Linked DNA regions of Homo sapiens: region 1 is linked to region 2. Evidence: promoter capture Hi-C in human tissues and cell types (Jung and others, 2019). All regions are on one chromosome and are shown on one strand. The core of a region is centred on a gene start or on the middle of the fragment in contact, and the rest is flanking DNA. Distances in the headings are between cores, read along the strand shown.

Region 1 (4,680 bases), core at 1,232-3,731, 1.0 Mb before region 2:
CAGAACAACAGTTTGCTCCCCTCCCATCCATTGCATCCTCCTCCTGCTCTACAGCAGCGGGGGTCTCCTGGCCATGCCCTCCAGGCACAAAGACAGCCCACCTCCCATCCTGGACCAATCGTGTGATCACAGACCTCCAGGCTGAGTTCCGCATATGCTTAAGAGATTCATAAAATTCTCTCTTCTCTCTCTCTCTCTTCCTCACTTTTGCTCACTCTTATTCTTTCACTTATCCTTGCTCTCATCCTCTCTCCAAAGTCTAGCCTGTGGTCTTACTGTCTTGCTGCAGACAGCAACAAAAATCAGGTTTGACTGTCCCAGCATATACCTGTAAACTGGAAGAGCAGGAAGCCACTTTTCCCTTGCAGGGGAGGGAAGACAACCCCCCTGCTCTCTGAAGGTTTGATAACTGAGTCTATGAAATACGCAGACAGTAGGCAGATGAGTGGGAGAAAAGGCAAACACATGTATTATATGCACAGGGGCAGCCCAGGGAAGAAAAGTGAGTGCCCAAACCCAGTGTGGTCTGGAAGCCCACAAACCTCTTCCCAGGGAAAGAGGGGAGGTGCGGGAAGCCTGGGGTGAGAGAATGACCTGGGGGAAGGTGAATGGGTGATGCCTGTGACTGAGTCTGCCTGGATGTCCTGTGGACCCCAAGTCTCTCCTGGATAATCCTCCCAGGTTGATGAGATTCCCAGGGAGGAGATGCATGACAATTGAGCTCCTGTTGGAGAGTTGGGTTTTTAGGCAGATAGGCAGGTTCAGAGAAAGCCCCTCCCTGCATTGCTGCTCCTCCAGTGCCCTCCATTTGAAGCAATCAGTATATTTTGCGGTCGCATTTCCTGAACCCTTTTACTCTTGGAGCACTGCAACCCACAGCTTCAATGACTGGGACACCCAGAGCATGAAGATTTACGGGAAATGGAAAAATATGCCTTCAAGTACATCTCAAAAGACACTGTGCTCATTATGAACCATCTACAATATGAAGGGAGATGAGCATAAGGAGTTTTCTTTTTCCTCCCCTTCCTCCTTCGTGAATAGCCTCAAATTTCATTAAAAAATGTCTGAGAGATGTGTTTATCCAAATGACACAGCTGTAGGAGGGGAGGTCATTAGGAAGAAGTTCCATGGAAAAGAGGAAAATGAAGGTTGATTGTTACCAATAAATTAGAGTAATTTTCTTAATTTGCGGTCCCTTTGCTTGCTTGTTCATTGCTGGCGTGCCTTATGAAATATGAAAATCTGACAATTAGTCACTTGGAAGGAGCATGTCTCCACGCCAAGTCCAGGTCTCTCTGCAGCACCAGGGGATTTACTGTTCTCCCTGGGTAGCCAGAAAAGAGCTGAGCAGCCCTCATCTTTGTTCCCACTGGCAGCCTGAGAGGCAGCCTGCAGCAGCCTCCTGCTGTGACCTTTGGGGTGGGGCTGGGAGACAGCGTCTTCATGACTGACCCCATGTCAATCCCTTACTGGCAAAGGAAGAGGGAAGGCGTACAGGGGCTCTGGAGCCAAGGGAGGGGGGACACCAACAGAACGAGCAAGTCAAACACACACAGCATTACATTCTTCTCGTGCTAAACCCAAGAAAAATCTCCCAGCTCTCACAATGCTCCTTGCTAATCTCCCTTTCTGGCTATTATTCAGCTACTGTGAATCCTTCTCAAGCTTCCAGCTTCCTTTTAGCTGTAGAAAGAGAATGAAAAAAATGTACCCTAAGACCTTGGATTTTTTTTTTCTTCCTTTTCTGTTGCCAGTGAATCTGTTTGAAAAGCAGCTGGCGCAGGCTGCAGCATTATGTGCCAGCGCTAATGGAGACACTCCAGGCACAGCCAAACATGGGCTTCGTGCAGGCGTGCACTCCCAGGAGGGTGACCTGCCAGTGACACGTTTCAGACATGCACTCCCGGGAGGGTGACCTGCCAGTGACACATGTTTCAGACCCAAAGAGGGAGTTTGGAACATTGAAACTATTTCCCCTCTTTATTTTTTTTGGAAGGTCACATACATTTTAATAGTTCCATGATCAAAATTGCTGCTTCCAAGCAAGTTAACTAGAGCAGACCTCATCTCATCCCCTCCCCGCATTTCCTTTTGGGAAATTCAGGAAGTTGAGTATAAACATGTCTGGACATCTAAGTATTTATTTTTCCATAGAAAGGGCAGTCTTGCTTTTGTTTTGTTCTTAACCAGTTCTTAAAGGGCCTGATCATTTATTCAGCAATATGTATCAAGTGCCAACCATATACTAAACACTGTGGTTTAGAGTGAGGATACCCCAAGGACGAGGTGGACAAAGTGCAAAGCGTGAGTGTTACTGGCAAAACCAAACTCTGTAAAACAGCTGAAGAGGTTTATTCTGCACCAATATGAGTGGCCATGACTCAGAGAACAGTCTCAAGGGGTCCTGACAGAGGCTGTCTGAGGTGGTCGGGTTATGGCTTGGTTTTATAGATTTTAGGGAGAAAGAAGTTACAGACAAAGACATAAATCAGTACATGTACAGTGTACATTGGTTCTGCCTGGAAAGGTGGGATATCTCAAAGGTGAGAAGTGGGGGGCTTATAAGTCATAAGTAGATTCAAAGATTTTCTGATTGGCAATTGTTTGAAACAGTTAAGCTTTGTCTAAAGGCTTGAAGTTGGTAGAAAGAAATGCTTGGGTTCACATAAGGGGAGTTGTGGAAGGCAAGGTCCTTGTTATGTAGATGAAGCCTCCAGGTAGCAGCCTTCAGAGAGAATAGATACTGAATGTCTCTTTTCAGAACTTAACAGGTGTCGGACTCTGTTTTTTTTTTTTTTTTTTTTGAGACAGAGTCTCATTCTGTCACCCAGGCTGGAGCGCAGTGGCGCAATCTTGGCTCACCGCAAGCTCCACCTCCCAGGTTCACGCCATTCTCCTGCCTCAGCCTCCTGAGTAGCTGGGACTACAGGCACCGCCACCATGTCCGGCTAGTTTTTTGTATTTTTAGTAGAGACGGGGTTTCACTGTGTTAGCCAGGATGGTCTTGATATCCTGACCTTGTAATCCGCCTGCCTCAGCCTCCCAAAGTGCTGGGATTACAGGCGTAAGCCACCACGCCCAGCCAGGTGTCAGACTCTTAGTTAATCTCTCCTAGATCGGGAAAGGCCAGGCTGCATGAATGAAGATTCTCTACAAACTTCCTCCATGAAAGATGGCTTTGCAGGGCCATTTCAAAATATGTCAATGAAATATATTTTAAGGTAAAATACACTTGATTTCCTTCAGAGAGTGCTATCTGTCATATGATGCTATACCAGAGTCAGGTTGGAATTTGTTATCTTATTGCCATGGAGTCTGTTTTGTCAGTGTTATGATCTCTGTTTTCATGTTAATGCTGGTCAGTTGTACCTAAACTCCAAAGGGAGGGGGCATAGCGAGGTGTGTCTGACATCCCTTCCCATTGTGGTGGGGAATTCAGTTTTTCAGGCCTCTCTGGTGTATTAGTTTGTTTTGCATTGCTATAAAGGGATACCTGAGACCAGATAATTTATAAAGACAAGTTTACTTTGGCTTACAGTTCTGTAGGCTGTATAGGAAGTGTCTTGCCAGCATCTGCTTCTTGTGAGGCCTTAGGAAGCTTCCAATCATGGTGGAAGACTCAGGGGGAGCCAGCGTATCACAAGGCAAGAGAGGGAGCAAGAGAAAGAGCAGTGAGGTGAAACTGCTTTTGGAAAGATGATGACAGTGAGAGAAATCTGACATAGGTGACTCCATCTTGCTTCCGACCTCCAAGCTGTCCTTGGTCATTCCTGGATGTAAGCCAAGCTAACCTTGGGAAAAATTTAGTTTATAGTTTAACCTTAAGACAAGGATGATAACAGCCCTTCCCAGAACTGAACCACCTTTCTAGAACCAATGAAAGACCTCATGGTTAGGATTATGGGAGGGGCCTGAACCTGCTAAGAGACAGGTGTTGTTCCTACAATCCCTAACTACTCAGGGGTCACGTGGCCAGGGGTCACAAGATTTGAGACCTTCTCAATTGCTCCTATGGATGACATCACTACTGTAGAACCTAAGATGGGTTTTCTGAGATGTGTTTCAGACACACCCCACCTGGACTCCTGACTCCTGACTCACCTGATCCTGTGGCTCCACCCAGCAGCTGACTCAGAGCACGGGGATTGTTTCTGCACCCTGTGATTTCATCCCCAACCAATCGGCAGCGCCCATTCCCTAACTCCCCGCCCACCAAATTGTCATAAAGACTCTAACCTCTGAGCCTTCAGAGAGACCAATTTGAATGATAGCTCCAGTTCTCCCATGTGGTCCGGCTTCGTGTCAGTTAAACTCTTTCTGTACTGCAATGCTGTGGTCTCAGTGGATTGATTTTGTCTGTGCAGCCAGCAAGAAGAAACTGTCTGGCAATCACAGAGGTGCCGGGTTATTTTAGACAACCAGCTCTCCCATGAACTGATACAGCAAGAACTCACTCATTACCATGAGGATGGCACCAAGCCATTCATGAGGGATACATCCCATGACCCAAACACCTCTCACCAGGCCCCACCTGCAACATTGGGGATTACATCAGCATGAGATTTGGAGGGGACACACATCCAAACCATATCATTTGAGGTCTCCTTGGCTCAGAAGGGATCCATTCAGTCGGTTGAGGGCTTAGAGTTTTAGTTTTTGTTTACACGAGGCATGAGC
Region 2 (4,697 bases), core at 1,108-3,607:
TTATGTGTACAATATATACAGCATTTCTCCTAAAAGCGCCCAAAGCGAGGAGAAATCTGGCGGGCGAGTGGGCGTCAGAGCACCGGGGGGTGCTGGGGCGTGTGCAGGTTAAGGGCGTTGGGGTGCGCGTGGCCGATCAGGTTGAGGTAATGCCGGTCCAGGCCCTGCACCGGTGTCAGGAAGGGGCTGTGCTGCTGCGCTGGGCTAGCGAGCGGCACTGGCGCGCTGGGCAGGTAGGGCAGCGCGGGGCTGCGGGCCGCGCCAGGCGGCCAGGGGAAAGGCCCGGCACCAGAGCCCTGCGGGAACACAGCGGCCTCGCCCGGGCTGTGACCAGCGAATTCGGGCCCCGCAGGGTGCAGCTGATAGGAGAAATCCGGCTCCGGGAGCGAACCCAGCGGCGGAAAGGCGGGCTCCGCGCCCAGGCGGGCCTTGGACTGCAAGAAGGCGAGGATGCGCGCGTACTTCGTGTCCTTGGTCTCCATCCGCTCCACCGTGGTGAGGTAATGCACCAGGTTCTTCATGCACTCGTGGTAGCCATAGTGGAAGTAGTTGGCAAACTCCGCTAGAAGTTCTGCTGGAGGAACGAGAAAGCCCGTAGGACGGACACACCCTGAGTGCCCCTTCCCCACGCGAGCCCAAAGCGGGTGCAGGGCACCTCCCACCACATTTTCTGGCCAAAGTTCCCATTTGAGGCCCGCCCTCTCCTCTGCGCAGTCTTAGAGACTGGCGAGGCACGCGCAAACGCCCTCTTTCCCTGAGAGCCTGACCCCACCCACCCCACCCGGGAGAAGGAGGTGGAACCAGCCTCCCTGGGAACCAGTTCTCCCTCGCCGCCTTGCTGTCGCCGAGCAGGGAGAGGCGCCTTCGCAGGACCCCTGCCCTCCTGGAGAGTGGAGCTCTAGTAGAGCTCTCGGGAACACTCAGTCACTCCCCTCCCAGCCCCAGGGTCTCTGGGTGGCGCAGGCGCCTGGCCCAGGCGTCCCATTCCCTAACCTGTGCCCACCTTTTTCCCTTCCCCGGGGAAAATCAGCGGAGTGCAGTGCTCTCAGGTACTGAACGGTCATCTCGAGGATCTCCGCCTTCTCCAGCTTCCCGGAACTCTGCAAAAGGAGGAAGGGCCCCTCGCAGCGGCCCAGCGCCTGCTGGTCGGGCACTGTGGCGCTGGAGAGGACCAGCGAGCGGACGCGGCTGCGGATCTGCGCCAGAGCCTCCTGAGGTTCGCCCTGCGCTCAGGCCCCCCGCCTGGGAGGGGCCCGCAAGTGAGGTCCTCTGTGTCCGCGGGCTCGGGCGTCTCCGCAGAGTGGCCGCAGAGGCCTCCCAACGCCTGGCACCCGGCTCCGGGTCGCCAACGTTACCTGCTTCGCCAAGGCCATGGGCACTGTCTTGCCCAGCTCGTTCAAGCAGCGGTTGATCCTGTCCCTCCTCCGCTTTTCTATCACTTTATGAGAAACGGGGGTTCTCTGCGAAGAGAGGGTTGTATGTTTAGGATGGCTTTGCCCGGGAAGTCGTCAAAGGCGCGGCTCTAGCAGCTGGGTGCAAGCCGCCTCTCCAGCCGCGCACACTGCTCAGATTCGCTCTAGGAAGGGACTCCTGGCCCGCCACGCTCGGGCCAGGTGAGCTCTGCCTTCTGACGCCCGCGCTGGCGCGCTCCCCTTCCAGCCACCCTACCCAGGCCTTTGGGGAGGTGGCCGCCAGCCTCCAGGCAGGACTTCTACCTGGTTGAGCACCCTCCTCTCTCTACCCCACCCCCTTCCCAAACCACTCGAGATTCCTCCACACTCAAAGTCCCGTGCGGGCACTTCCCTGCCATCGGTCCACCCAAGTGGCGGGTCGGTGAGTCAGATGCCTCCACCACCAGGGCGCAAGTGCCATTTGGGCTCAGCCGACTCACTTTGCGTTCCTTGAGCTTGTCTGACATCCTGGTCAGTACGCGCCCTCGGGAGAGGCGGTGGCGCGGGGCACCCGTCCACTTTTCCGCCTCGTGTGCCTCCTCGAGTGTCCCAGGTAGACTGCAGCCTCCCAACTCCGAGGGCTGCCTTATAAAGCGGTCATCTAGGGCTCCAGATGCATTCACGAGTTGAATTATTCCATAGGATTAGGGGAGCTGCGTTTGGAGGATGTATGCATTCAAGATCAGTTTTAAAGAAGTTAAGAAAAAAAAAAAATTAGCAGCCGAGGGGGGCGAGCTGGGGGCAGATCAGCTTTGTTAATCCACGTGGCCCTTCAAAGGACACGTGATCGGCCCAGGAATAACATTTGCATGGCAACAGCTCGGGCGGGAAAAGGAGGCGGTAAACTGGGGCCGGCGGGCGAGCAAGCGCCTGCAGCAGTCGCGGGCGCGGAGCGCAGGGGCGCAGCGGCCGCGGGCACCGGGGGGCGAGGACCCTCACAAAACAGTGTCGCCTCTTTTAGTCCCACCGCTGAGTCTCACATGATCGCCTGTTTACAAATCCCAGCAAGCCCGCCGTCCCAGCGCCGAGTGCGTTTTAAAGCCTGTCCAGAGTCATTAAAGTAATTAAGTAAGCCTTTAATAGGCTGTTCCGCCGGGTTCAAGGGAGAGCTCTTGGAGACGGAGGCGCCCCGTTTGTTCCCAGGCTTTTCTCACACGACTTGGTGACACGTCCTTCTCCCCCCTTTTTGTTTACACCGCTTTATTTGTCCGGACATCCCGGCAGGTGTGGGGCTGCGGCTGGCACACGAGGCTCCCGCCTCGCCTCGCCTCGCCCCTCCCGCCGCTGTTTGGCACGCGACGCTCCCCCCTACTCCCTGACCACGTCGCTGGCTTTCTTTTCTCCCCACCCCTCCTGCTCCCTCTTCGCGGGGGGAAGAGGCTCAATTTGTAGCCTATTATCCTATACGAAAATGTCCATTGAAAAGTATGAATAGTTTCATTGGGCTAAATTTTAATAATGCCAGAGGGTGGGGGAGGAGAGACTGGCGGGCGTGTGTGTGTGTTTGTGTGTGAAGGGGCGGGTGGGAGGATTGGGGGGCAACACGGAGAAGAGTGGGCCGAGAAGAAAAGGGGGAATGCAGCTGGCCCAGGCAAGCATTATGCAACGTCACCTGCGAGAGGGGGCGCCTACAGACCCCTATTCATTTGCCTAATTTTGGTCAATTTAACAAACTTCAGGAGAAATTATTGTGGCTTTGTCAGGGAGGGTGAAGCCTTCTGATCGAATTAACAGCATGTTTTGATCCGGTAAATGTCATTAGAAAGGGAGAAACAATCGCGCTTAGAGGGCTCTGAGTAATGCGCCCAAGTGGAGACGCCAAAGCGCACGGCTCACAAAGGGAGCAAGTAGCTGCCACAGGGAACTTTTGTACCCGCCCATCGCCCAAGTTTTGACACAAAAAGGCATTATTTCATACTTGAATACGTTTAATCCAACGATTGTCTATTTTCTGCAAACATATTTTCACAGCATTGTTAACTTTTTATGTCTCCCTTTCGCTGGCGTCTTTTCTTAACGTTTGGGGGCGGGAGAGCGCAGACACTTTGGGCATCAATATTTGTCACTGAAAAGGGCCCTGTGAAGTTTGGGAAGTTGATCTCTTTTTTATGGTTTTAGAAAGCGAAAATATCGGGGGGAGGAGGAGGGAGGGAAGGCACGAACAGAAACGAGGGAGGAAATTTGCTGGACGGGCCCAAGGGGAAGGAGGGGGGCGGCGGCGGCTGGGAACTCTCTTGGCCGCCTGCGCCTCTGAGGGCAACCTGGCCCCGCGGCCAGAGGCCACCTCCCCCAGGACGGGCCTCGCTCACACTTGCTGCCTCGGATCCTATACTCTGGGGGCTCTGAGCTTGTGGGGTGTGGGTGGGGGGTGAGCTTTCTTGCAGATTGAAACGATAAAAATGATTTTTGTTTTATGGCCCTTTCTAGAGCCACCGAACTCTCACCTCTCTAATCTTTTCCATCTGGGAACAGCTGAGACCGCTTCTCAGATTTTTCTTCTTTTCTGCCTGCCCCTAACCCTGCCTAAATTCTCTCTGTTCTGCAGGGAGATGGCAGGGCCCAGCGCCCCCCTTGGGGTCGTTAGACCTTGGCAGGGGTGGGTAGGCGGCGCTCTTCTAGCTGGTGGGACCTGGGAGCCTCAGGGCGCAGAGCCAGGCCTGGGGTGCCAGGCCTCGGGGAAGCCATCGGCCCACCTGCTGCGGCCTGGGAGATGTGAGGGCTCGGTCTGCACCTCGCACCCCTAGGGTGTCCCTCTCGGTCCTGCCTCTAGTCTCCTCACGATGTTTCCTTTCTGCTTCACGCCAGATTGGACACGATCCGCACCCTCCCAGGTTGCTCTGCCAGCCGCGAGTGCCCTCTCAGGGGTTGTCGATTTCAGGATATTCACTCGCACACAAAGAGATTAAACGCGAACCCTTATCATCCAAATTAACTAACGTGAATGGGTAAAAAGGAGCGCGCACACTTCGCACTCCCACTCCCATTTTTAAGCCAGCGGCCCGGGCGTTGATCCTCTTACTGCCGGTGTTAACCGCCAGCTGCAGGCACCTTCCACGGACCACATTTCATTCCATGCACACTGTTTAATTTCCCGGGTTTGGTCTCGGCGCTTGGCTCAAGGCTTGCCCAGGGCTAAAAGTACCCGCGTGCAGGTGAGGGGGCAAGGGAAGGCCGGTGAGTGGAGACTTGGGCTCAGGGGCGCAGCCTCGCCCGGTCCTTGCGCGGCTGCAGCACTACCTGCGAAAC

The links. The method cuts DNA at HindIII sites, captures the fragments that hold promoters and counts their contacts. A contact is called where the count stands out against the background at its distance.
Region 1: a fragment that was not itself captured here is called in contact with the fragment with the promoter of HELT in region 2 in 1 of the 25 tissues and cell types used here (pancreas).

Annotation. Positions count from the first base shown.
Region 1 is chr4:186,027,014-186,031,693 of GRCh38, reverse strand. No RefSeq gene overlaps it. Among named protein-coding and RNA genes, the nearest start is that of TLR3, 40 kb to the left of the region's middle. RefSeq lists an enhancer at 3,385-4,584. The HindIII fragment of the contact is 4,021 bases long and covers 471-4,491 here.
Region 2 is chr4:185,016,150-185,020,846 of GRCh38, reverse strand. It overlaps HELT (helt bHLH transcription factor), which reads right to left and starts at 2,357. Exons shown (of 4, transcript NM_001300781.2): 1 at 1,892-2,357; 2 at 1,356-1,460; 3 at 1,004-1,100; 4 at 1-574. The coding sequence starts at 1,918. The coding sequence ends at 75. RefSeq lists enhancers at 1-653, 1,368-1,947, 1,948-2,526, 2,527-3,107. The HindIII fragment of the contact is 22,587 bases long and covers 1-4,697 here.